4 separate regions of the Homo sapiens genome follow, and regions 1, 2 and 3 are each linked to region 4. The links are contacts of gene promoters, found by promoter capture Hi-C in human tissues and cell types (Jung and others, 2019). All regions are on one chromosome and are shown on one strand. Each heading gives the region's core, a stretch centred on a gene start or on the middle of the fragment in contact. The rest is flanking DNA. Distances are from core to core; before and after follow the strand shown.

What was found. The method cuts DNA at HindIII sites, captures the fragments that hold promoters and counts their contacts. A contact is called where the count stands out against the background at its distance.
Region 1: a contact is called between a fragment that was not itself captured here and the fragment with the promoter of DHX8 in region 4, in 1 of the 25 tissues and cell types used here (thymus).
Region 2: a contact is called between a fragment that was not itself captured here and the fragment with the promoter of DHX8 in region 4, in 1 of the 25 tissues and cell types used here (small bowel).
Region 3: a contact is called between a fragment that was not itself captured here and the fragment with the promoter of DHX8 in region 4, in 1 of the 25 tissues and cell types used here (spleen).

Annotation. Positions count from the first base shown.
Region 1 is chr17:43,612,371-43,615,070 of GRCh38, reverse strand. It overlaps LOC124904008 (a long non-coding RNA gene), which reads right to left and starts at 1,446. Exons shown (of 2, transcript XR_007065763.1): 1 at 1,325-1,446; 2 at 876-1,052. The HindIII fragment of the contact is 7,113 bases long and covers 1-2,700 here.
Region 2 is chr17:43,722,271-43,724,970 of GRCh38, reverse strand. No RefSeq gene overlaps it. Among named protein-coding and RNA genes, the nearest start is that of SOST, 35 kb to the left of the region's middle. The HindIII fragment of the contact is 4,286 bases long and covers 1-2,700 here.
Region 3 is chr17:43,328,055-43,330,754 of GRCh38, reverse strand. No RefSeq gene overlaps it. Among named protein-coding and RNA genes, the nearest start is that of LINC00910, 59 kb to the left of the region's middle. The HindIII fragment of the contact is 8,377 bases long and covers 1-2,700 here.
Region 4 is chr17:43,482,604-43,485,303 of GRCh38, reverse strand. It overlaps DHX8 (DEAH-box helicase 8), which reads right to left and starts at 1,329. Exons shown (of 23, transcript NM_004941.3): 1 at 1,119-1,329. The coding sequence starts at 1,266. RefSeq lists enhancers at 1,065-1,494, 794-1,636. The HindIII fragment of the contact is 21,666 bases long and covers 1-2,700 here.

The DNA of each region.
Region 1 (2,700 bases), core at 144-2,643, 130 kb before region 4:
GCCCCCAGCCACGCGGAGCATCACCACAAAGAACAGGAATGGCTGCGGACCATTTGGCCAGGCGTCTCCCATTTGCTGTGCCTTTTGGCACTGATCTGCAAGGCTACATTAAGCGTTCTTTTCCGAGTTGTTTGTGGGCAGGAGAAGCCATTGAAATTGCAATGAACAGAGGCACCTGGCTCCCCAGGGACAATTTCCGAGTCCATCTCCCCACCTTGTTTATTTGTAAAATGGGAACACAGACACAACTGGTGTATGTTTTCATTAAACCAAGTAGGAGCTTGTGGCATTTCTGTCTGCACTTGAGACATGTTTATACTGCTGAGTCCATTATGAATCTGTTTAATATCCTTCGAATTCTCCGAGTCCTTCCATCCCTGCAGCCAGGAAGTGGGTAATGTGCACACAGGGAAGAAATTTCCAGGCACTCAGACCTTTAGGTAAATGAGGACTCTTTTTTCTTTCTTTTCTTTAAAGAGGGGAAAGCCTGTTGCAAAAAAATTAAATTCTTCCTGTTCAAAATGGTTTTTCCAGTGATCCTTTCCTTGTAGGAAATTGGTTAGGTCCTAGAGAGATGGTGAAGGAGCTACCAGCTAGGGGAGCCTGGGACTAGTGAGAATAGCATCCCTTTGCCCTGGAGAGCCTGGGATGGAGGCATGGAGGTGAGTGACTATCTGGGGGCTGAGAAGGACATCAGGGGATCTGTAGCCAGGAGCTCAAGGTCACCTGAGGGCTGCCTTGGCTACTGGGGGCTCCTGGGAAGCCAGTATCAGACTAATCCTATCGGATTGGGAACAGGCTTCCCACTGGAGTGCTGGCAGGAGTAGCTCCCTGCTTGCTGGCAGAACAGAGAGATATTATTTTAAGGAGAAAAATGAGATTCCTGTTATTGCTTTATTCCTCCTGCAGAAACGTTGGTGCGTCCCAGCCAGGGCCAAGATGAGAGGCAGGTGGTGCCAAGAGAAGGATGAGCTCATCGCATGTGGGGACGTGAGGTGATTCCAGCAAGGCACAGTGTGGAAAAAAAGCTCCATTCTTGGGATCCCAAATCCCTGTCAAAGCAGAACCCTGTGACCCTTCCCTCCCCCACCTCCCTTCTCCATCACTCAGTCCGTCTGCCACCTTCCTTCCCCATCATCTTCTTCCTCCCTCATCTAAGCCCACTCCCATTTAATCTCTCTCTCTTCTTGCATCTTCAACCAAACACTCCTCCTCAGCACCCTTGAGCACCTGTGCAAGTTCTTGTGTGGAGACTGCATGAAGGAAAGAGCCCAGGCTTTGGAGTTGGAGAAACCCGAGTTCAAACCTCAGCCCTACCACTTACTGGCTGTGAGACAGGGGTCTTCTCCTCTCTGCTGTCTCATGTTATCATATGATCTTGCAGCTAGATGAGAAAGAAAATAGGAAAATATCTAGCACATACTAGATGTTCCCTTAATATTTCTTCCTCCCGGCCGGGCGCGGTGGCTCACGCCTGTAATGCCAGCACTTTGGGAGGCCGAAGCGGGCAGATCAGGAGGTCAGGAGATCGACACCATCCTGGCTAACACGGTAAAACCCGGTCTCTACTAAAAATACAAAAAAATGAGCCGGGCACGGTGGCAGGTGCCTGTAGTCCCAGCTACTCAGGAGGCTGAGGCAGGAGAATGGTGGGAACCCGGGAGGTGGAGCTTGCAGTGAGCCGAGATCACGCCACTGCACTCCAGCCTGGGCGACACAGCGAGACTCCGTCTCGGAAAAAAAAATAATTTCTTCCTCCCTTCCTTCCTGTGGAAGCAAAGGCTATAGTATAATTAAGAAATTGTTGGGCTGGGCATGGGGGCTCATGCATGTAATCCCAGCACTTTGGGAGGCTGGGGCAGGAGGATCACTTGAGCACAGGAGGTTAAGACTTAAGACTGCAGTAAACCAAGTTTGCACCACTGCACTCCAGCCTGGGCGACAGAGCAAGAGCAAGACCATCTAAAAAAGACAAAAAAAAAAAAAAAAAAAGCAATTGTGAGACTTTGAGATCTACAAATGTCAAATTCCTGCAGGACTCTGGAAAATATGGGTCACAGGTTATTTCTTGGACTCATCATCAGATTCCTGGCAATGGTCTAGGGATGACACAAGTCACTGTGAATGGAACCTGGCATGATGAAGAAGGGTTCCAGAGAGTTAGGGGGAACTTTCCTGGTCTTGGCCAAGAAAGAAATGTCATGGCCAGGAGCCCAGGTCAGAGAGGGCAGGAGATAAGATGATGTGGGTTGGAGGGAAGTAGCCTGAAGTTTGCGGATCAAGAAGCTCCATAAAAGTGGCCATGAAATCGGAATAGTTGGAAATTCTGAAAGGTGAGAGTGAAAAGGTGCAGAGTCCATGGGGTGAGTCACCTTTGGTAGGACACAGAGCTCTAACTGGCACTTCGGCTGCCTCAGGCAAGGGTCTGAAACACACCCTCAAACCAACTTTGGTTTTCCATCTAGGAATCATGAAGGAGGTGTTATTAACCACAGGCCTTCTGGAAGCTTCCTATGGAAGGGCCAAATCCCTTTGTTTCTGTGTCATGCAGGGGTGCATGTGCTGTCAAAATGTTAAAAATGTCACAACAGTTTCACTTTCATCACTTTCCGCAATTATTGTTTTAAATTCCATATCCTCTAAATTTCCAGCCCCCTGGGCAAAGCCCAATCACACTGCCCTGGGTAATGGCCATGATGG
Region 2 (2,700 bases), core at 4-2,503, 240 kb before region 4:
CCAATAGGGTGGGGAGCAGGCACCAACAGAATCCTCCCAACCAGTTGGGAAAATAGGAGTGCAAAGGAGACTGTGTCCACTGTTTATCTGGAATGCTGAGTGGGTGGAGTCCTGTTCTATCATGGCACCCAGGGTCAATCAGAACTTCCCTGGGTCCCTATAGTATGAGGGGCCAGCTAGTTTTCCAACACTTCCAAGGAAGGCATGGAAGGTGCTGGGCAGGGCCTGGTGGGCTGGGAGGGCCTCAGCTGCAGAGTCAGGAGGACACAGAGTGTGTGGGCTAATTACTACAGAAAAAAAAGATGTGGATTTAGCAGACACCAACAAAATGGGGTGACCATGCCCAAGAGGTTAGTGAAGACAGATACTGATGACCATGGCTCGGCTCTCCCCCTCCTCCAGCTCCCCCTCCTATGGCACAGAAGCCACTAGAACTAAGTAGATGACCTGACAAGGGAAGTTGAGGCAACTGGGAATAGATTGAATTTAAGTCTGATATGACCAACTTCAGCTGACATTGATTATTAAATAAACTTAAATGTTTTTGGCAGTTGGACAGAATGGGGAGTCTATAGGAGAAACAGAAAAATGAAGCTGTGTTTTTAGAGGCCCCAAGATTTGTAGCTAATTCATTTCTTCTTTCTGCTTAGCAAGGGACTGGCTGAGATCTCAGGCCTTTCCAGCTGTGATATCCAGTGTGGCTCTGATCCCCAGGCTTTATGACTCTGCTGCTGCTACCACTGCATCCCAGGGGACTGCCAAAGTGTGTGCAGGTCACGTCCCAGTGGGGCTCTGCCTGACCCAGCACTGAAAAATGGTTTACCCCTGAGTCATTCAGACAATTGATATCGTTGAGAAACCACGGTGTGTAGGCCCTAGGCTGGGCACTGTGCCTGCTTCTGGGGACAGTCAATTGAATAAGACACTGGCCTCATCTTCAACATGTTTACAATCCTGTGGCAGCAAACAATTAGAAGCCACTGGTTCTAGGACCTTAATTAGGAATTTCTCCTGATTACTGCTTTCGTTAAAAAGACATGAGCACATCTCCAGCTAATCAGTCAACAAATATTTACTGAGCACCTACTATGTTCCAGGCTCTGTTTTAGGTACTTGGGGTACATCAGTGGAACAAATAAACAGTAGAAATATAAATAAATGAGCCTTGAAGGCCTGCTTTTATCTCTCTGCCCATCTCGGTCCTGGGGAAATAAATGTGGGTGTTTCAGGCCGAACATCCAAATGATCAACTTTTTTTTGAGACAGGGTCTCCTTCTGTCTCAGGGTCTCCTCCTTCACCAGGCTGAAGTGCAGTGGTGCAAACACAGCTCACTGCATCCTCAACCTCCTGGACTCAAGCAATCCTAGCACCTCAGCCTCCTCGTGTAGATGGGACCACAGGCATGTGCCACCACACCAGGCTAATTTTTAAATTTTTTGTTAAGAAAAGGTCTCACCATGTTGTCCATGCTGGTCTCAAACTCCTGGGCTCAAGTGATTTTCCCGCCTCAGCCTCCCAAAGCACTGAGATTAGAGGCATAAGCCACCGCAACAGGCCATCATCAACTTAATTCTAAGGCATTTCCCACCCCCACCCTCATTCCCTGAACTCCCATCCTCCTTTGATCCTCAGTCAAGGCCAACTTCGAAAACTCCTTGGTAATCAGCTGGGAGCTTGCAGGGCCCAGACCTTCAGCAGCTTGTGGGAATGTCCCATGAGGAACTTTTTTTTTGTCAAAAGAATGCCAGGAGTTTAATTACTGTGTGGCCCATGGAGGTGATTTCCATTTATCAGCCAGAACCCAGACAGATCCTAGGAAGGCCCATCATGTGAGGCTGTGGCCGCCGTGGCCTGCTCTCTCCAGCAAAGGATAACCCTGGGGCCTGTGCCCTGGGCAGGGGCAGCAGGAATGCTTTGAATGCTTCCCCTGCATGTGGCCTTGGGTTTTACCAATGGCTACAGCGGGTGGTTTAATTAATAAATGTCCACTGCTTGTCATTTATCATTAGCAAAACAGGAGGGGTTGGAGGTGGGGGCAGCCAAGAGGGCAGGGAAGCTTTCTCCAAACAAGGTGCACCGATAAATTAAAGCTTTATCCATCAGTCTCACAGGCTGGCTGCTGTTGTACAGCCCCACGTTACTTTCCTCTGGTTCAGAGGCCAATCTCATGTTTCTGAAGGGCTTTGCAGCAGCTGTAGGGGGTTTCATCTATGACTGTGTTTCCCTTGTCAAATCTCAGCAAAGGACTGTGTTGCATGGTATGGAGGAGAGAGAGCAGCATGTGCCCAGGGGACTGGTTCCCATCGGGGTCTCAAACTGAAACTCTATGGTGGATCCAGCCTGAGGCTAGATTTTTGTTTGGCTACAATGGCATTTGACAAATTGGAAATTTTTACATAAAAATTCAAGTTTCTGGCTTCTATTGAAAAAGCAAGGCGAGGCAAAACCAAACCCTCTTTTTCAGTATGGCAACAAGCAGCTGATGGCCAGCTTAGGCAGGCAGGGCAGCCATGTGAGGTTGTGTGAGTTGTGCACTGCACAAAAGCACCTAGCAGAAGGTGCAAATGGAGGCTGAATCCAGGCCAGGCTGTCTTTCCAGCAGAAGCCCTGTAGGCAGGATGCAGGCCTTCCACTTCCCCACCACCGCTGACAATCCCTGCTACTTTACTCACCTACTCCATTCATTTACGTTACCTATC
Region 3 (2,700 bases), core at 117-2,616, 150 kb after region 4:
CACTTCCAGGTAAACGGGAAGAGGGGCCAGCCCTAGGCCCCTCCAAACAATGGGGCATTCCTCAACTCCGAGCCCCTGGCGTCCAGCAAGATGAGCGCCTTGCCAGCCCAATCCATTCAACCTACATCCCAATTCCCACTTCAGCAATTTGTGCCACAGGATCTAATGGCTCTGCCCCAACACGAATCTCAGTACAATGCTTGTCCCCTGCCACCACAGGCTCAGCATCAGTAGATCTCTGTTGTACCAGAGATATTTCTCTGTTACCTGGAGAGCCACCTATTGCTGTTCCCACAGGTGTTTTTGGCCCCTTGCCGACTGGCAGTGTCGGTTTGCTATTTGATCTCTCAAGCCTAAATTTAAAAGGTGTTCAAGTACATACTGGTGTAATTGATTCTGACTATTCAGGTGAAATTCATATTGTCATTAGCTCTGCAGTCCCTTGATATACGGCAGCTGGAGACCGCATTGCTCAGCTTCTTATACTCCCTTACGTTCCTTTAGGATCCAGTTCTTGTACCAGAACTGGAGGTTTTGGTAGCACAGACTATCAGGACAAAGCAGCTTATTGAGCCAGCAAGATTTCTGACACTCGTCCTGTGTGCTCTGTGCATATTCAAGGAAGGAAGTTTGAGGGAATGATTGATACGGGCGCTGATGTCTCCATTATCGCTTTACATCAATGGCCCCGACACTGGCCAAAGGAACACGCGTCCACAGCATTAGTTGGTGTTGGTCAGGCTTCAGAAGTCTATGAAAGTTCTACAATTTTACACTGTACGGGCCCAGAAGAACAGATTGGTACTATTTGCCCCCTCATTACACCCATTCCTGTTAACCTGTGGGGAAGAGAACTTTTACAACAACGAGGGGCACAGATTTCTTTTCCACAAGGCAATTACAGCCAGCAAAGTAAAGACATTATGACAAAAATGGGATTTGTTCAAGTTATGGGCTTAGGGAAATCAGCACAAGGCATCACCGAGCCTATTATACCTACCCATAAATCAGATTTTACGGGACTTGGTTATTCTTTTTAGAAGTGGTCACTATCAAGCCTCCAAATCCCATCCCCTTGACTTGGAAAACTCAGAAACCGGTTTGGGTAAATCAGTGGCCGCTCCCTAAAAATAAGCTGGAGGCACTCCATATTTTGATCCTTGAACAGTTAAAATTGGGACACATCGAGCAATCTTTTTCTATCTGGAATTCACCTGTCTTTGTTATCCAAAAGAAATCCGGTAAGTGGAGAATGCTTACTGATCTTAGGGCAGTAAGTGCTGTCCTTCAGCCTATGGGGACATTACAACCCAGCTTGCCTTTCCCCGCTATGATTCCCAAGTATTGGCCTCTTATCATCATTGATCTTAAAGACTGCTTCTTCAACATTCCTCTGGCCCCTCAGGACTTTGAAAAATTTGCTTTCACAGTTCCAACCCTTAACAACATCGCTCCCACAGCACGTTACCATTGGAAAGTCCTACCTCAGGGAATGCTTAATAGCCTACCATTTGTCAATATTACGTGGGGAGCATATTAAAGCCAGTAAGAGATCAATTTCCCCAATTTTTTATCATTCATTACATGGATGATATTCTTTGTGCAGTGCCTTCACGTTCTGTATTAATATCTTGTTTCTCTGCAGTACGACAAGCAGTTGCAACAGCTGGTTTGGCTGTCGCTCCAGAAAAAATCCAAACTTCTTCTCCTTATCAATATTTAGGAATGCAGCTAGAAGACAAGGTTATTAAGCCCCAAAAGGTTCAACTCAGATGAGACTCTCTAAAAACGCTAAATGATTTCCAAAAAATGCTTGGAGATATTAATTGGATTTGCCCCTCCTTAGGCATTCTTACATATGCTATGTCTAATCTGTTTGCAACATTATGGGGCAATCCTGATTTATGCAACAAAAGGTCTTTGACCCCTGAGGCAGATTCTGAATTACAACTTATAGAAAAACGCATTCAACAGTCTCAGGTAACCAGGGCGAATCCATATTTACCTTTTGAAATACTAATCTTTCCTACTAAACATTCACCAACAGGACTCATTATCCAGGGACATAATTTAATTGAATAGTGCTTTCTTCCACACAGCTCTTTACGGACGCTTACCGTTTATCTAGATCAAATTTCTATCCTAATTGGTCAAGCTCTTTCTCACCTTCTTCATCTTTTGGGTACAGAGCCCCAAAAAATCATTGTTTCCCTCACCTGATTACAAGTCCAACAGGCTTTTGCAACCTGCATTGCTTGCCAAGTACATTTGGCAGGTTTCCTGGGTATAATTGACAATCATTATCCTAATGTAAAACTATTTCAGTTCCTTAAACTTACTTCTTGGATCTTACCTAACATTACTATGGATACTCCATTAGCTGAAGCTGTCACTGTTTTTACTGATGCTTCCTGTAATGACCAAGGAGCATATGCAGGGCCAAAAGAATGTGTCCTTAACTCAGGAGCTACTTCAGCACAACAAGCTGAGCTGACTGCTGTCATGGCTGTTCTTGAATATTTCCCTGAACCAGTTAACATAGTTTCTGATTTGGTGTACGCAGCAGGTGTTGCTTGCAACATTGAAACTGCCTTAAACACATTTCTGCCTGATGATAACCACTTTTTCTTTTCCAAAAGTTTCAGTCCCTACTCAGAGCAAGGTCTTCTCCCTTCTACATTACTCACGTTCGGGCTCACA
Region 4 (2,700 bases), core at 80-2,579:
CCTGTCACCTGCCCCTTCCCTTCCATCCCTCCGGTTGATGACTTTATCTTCATTTAGGAAACTGAAGAGTGGGCTGGAACTCTCTCACTCATCTTCCCACCACCAATCTCTAAACTCATCTGAATCTGCAACTGTATTCTCTGTCCTCGCTCCTGTTACAACTGAAGAAGCCTTGCTGTACGTACCAAAGGTCAATCCATCCATTGGTTGCCCTTGATCCCATCCATCCTCTGTACCTTCATAAAGGCTCCATCTGTCTATGGCTTTAGCTTTAGGACCCTAGCCTTTTCTAATTCCTCAGTTTCGGCTCCCCAGATGTAGTTTGCCCCAAAACATCTAGTGACTGGTGTTTAAGACATAGTACAGGACGCAATGGCTCACGCCTGTAATCCCAACACTTTGGGAGGCCGAGGGAAGAGGACTGCTTGAGCCCAGAAGTTCGAGACCAGCCTGGGCAATACAGTGAGACCCCCGTCTCTACAAAAAATTTAAAAATGAGTCGAGCTTGGTGGCGCCCGCCTGTAGTCCCAGCTACTCGGGAGGCTGAGGTGGGAGGACTGCTTGAGCCCAGGAGGTGGAGGCTGCAGTGAGCCGAGATCGTGCCACTGCACTCCAGCCCGGGAAACAGAGCGAGGCCCTGCCTCAAAAAAGAGTACAGGATGAACGGTCAAAGAACACAGTTAAAAGCACAGACGCTAACTACTATGTCACAGAGTGGCGTGAAGACCAAATAAAATAATGTCAATAAAGAGCTGAGCATCGCATCTAGCACATAGTGAGCACCCAATAAACGTCAGCCATCATCGTCGTCATCGCAGCATCTGCTGCTGTTGTTGTTAAACATGTTTAATTGAGGCTGAAAAAACAAACAAAAAACAATCAAGCAGAGATGACCGCCCCGGGCTTCACTGACAGCTCTGGGAAAGTTTCTAAAGTTTCTCGAGGGCTCTCAAGCCGAGGCCACGGCAGCGTGTACCCTGGGCACCGGTGTCTGCGACAGAGAGAGACAGATTCACACGAACATACTTTCGGTCCATCAACCACCTTTCTCCTTCCTCCTTCCTCCTTCCGCTTCCCTCAATCCCAAACTGAGGTCCCAGGGACCTCCCCGAGCTCACCAAGGTCCTTGTCGTTGATCCCCAAGTGATTGTCCAGCTCAGTGCAAACCTTTGACACCAAAGACAGGTACTCGAGTTTGGCAAGTTCTTCCGCGGGGCCTGGCTCCGACCCGATTAAGGCTCCCGCCATGGCTACAGCCACAGCCATGGCTATAGCTTGCCCAGAACCTCCTTCCTCACAGCCGGCGCTCAGAGCTACTCCGGCCGGGTTCCAGCTTTCACTTCCGGGTCAGCGCGCGTCCCCTTTGTTTACGGTAAATTGAAAATTTGAGGAACGAATCAAGTCCCAACAGGATGGATCATAGAGATCAAACAGGAAGTGCTTAAGGAAGGGACAACTAGAGTGGGTTACTCTGCACGCCGATCTGCGCCCTCTACAGGCGAGAAAAATCTCCGCCCGCCCTCAGGCCTGGAAACGTTCACTCAGCGCGCTCCCGCCCTGGGTCGGCAGAGGGCGACCCCGGCCTGCACAAGAGGCGCCGGGAGGCAACCGCAAAACAGCCTGCGCCTGCGCTTTAGAACACTTGAAAAAGGAATCTTAATGCACGTCTGGAAAAAGACAAACTTGCTTTACTGTGGATCCGCAAATTCCCGGCCTCACTTCTTTGTGGTTCCTGTCGTCCGATCTCAAGTGACCCTTGACAAGCCAGTAGGCAGTAGATTGCCTTCTCTTGTTTTACACACGAAGAAACTGGCACTTCCACTGCCAGCTGGCTGCTTGGGCAAATCAATCTCTGGGGCCTTAGTTTTCTCATCTGTAAACTAGAATAATGTTGCTCTACCCTAAATGGAATAACTGCAAGGAGTGTGACACAGAGTAGGCACACCGCAAATGACAGTTACTGTTAATATCACAAGGCTAGGCCGGGTGCAGTGGCTCACGCCTGTAATGCCAGCACTTTGGGAGGCCGAGGCTGGTGGATCACTTGAGGTCAGGAGTTCCAGACCAGCCTGGCCAACGTGGCGAAACTCCATCTCTACTAAAAATAGAAAACTTAGCCGGGCGTGGTGGTGGTGGGCGCCTGTAGTCCCAGCTACTCGGGAGGCTGAGGCACAAGAATCGCTTGAACCCAGGAGGCAGAGGTTGGAGTGACCTGAGTTCACACCACTACACTCCAGCATGGGCGACAGAGTGAGACTTTGTCTCAAAAAAAAAAAAAAAAAAATTCAAGGCTGAGATGATGGTCACAGAACTGGCCTCTGGTCTGTCAAGCACAGATCCCCTTAGTCTGGGAACCCACAGAGCCAGCTGCCTCCACTCTTGTGAAAACCTGCTTTTCAATCCCCAGTTTTCCTGTGTCCTCTCAGAACTTATTCCCCCAGGGGCTGGGCACTGTGGCTCACCCCTGTAATCCCAGCACTTTGGGAGGCCGAGACGGGCGGATCACTTGAGGTCAGGAGTTCAAGACCACTCTGGCCAACATGGTGAAACCTCGTCTGTACTAAAAATACAAAAATTAGCTGGGCGTGATGGTATGTGCCTGTAGTCCCAGCTACTAGGGAGGCTGAGGCGGGAGAATTGCTTGAACCTGGGAGGTGGATGTTGCAGTGAGCTGAGATCTCGCCACTGCACTCTAGCCTG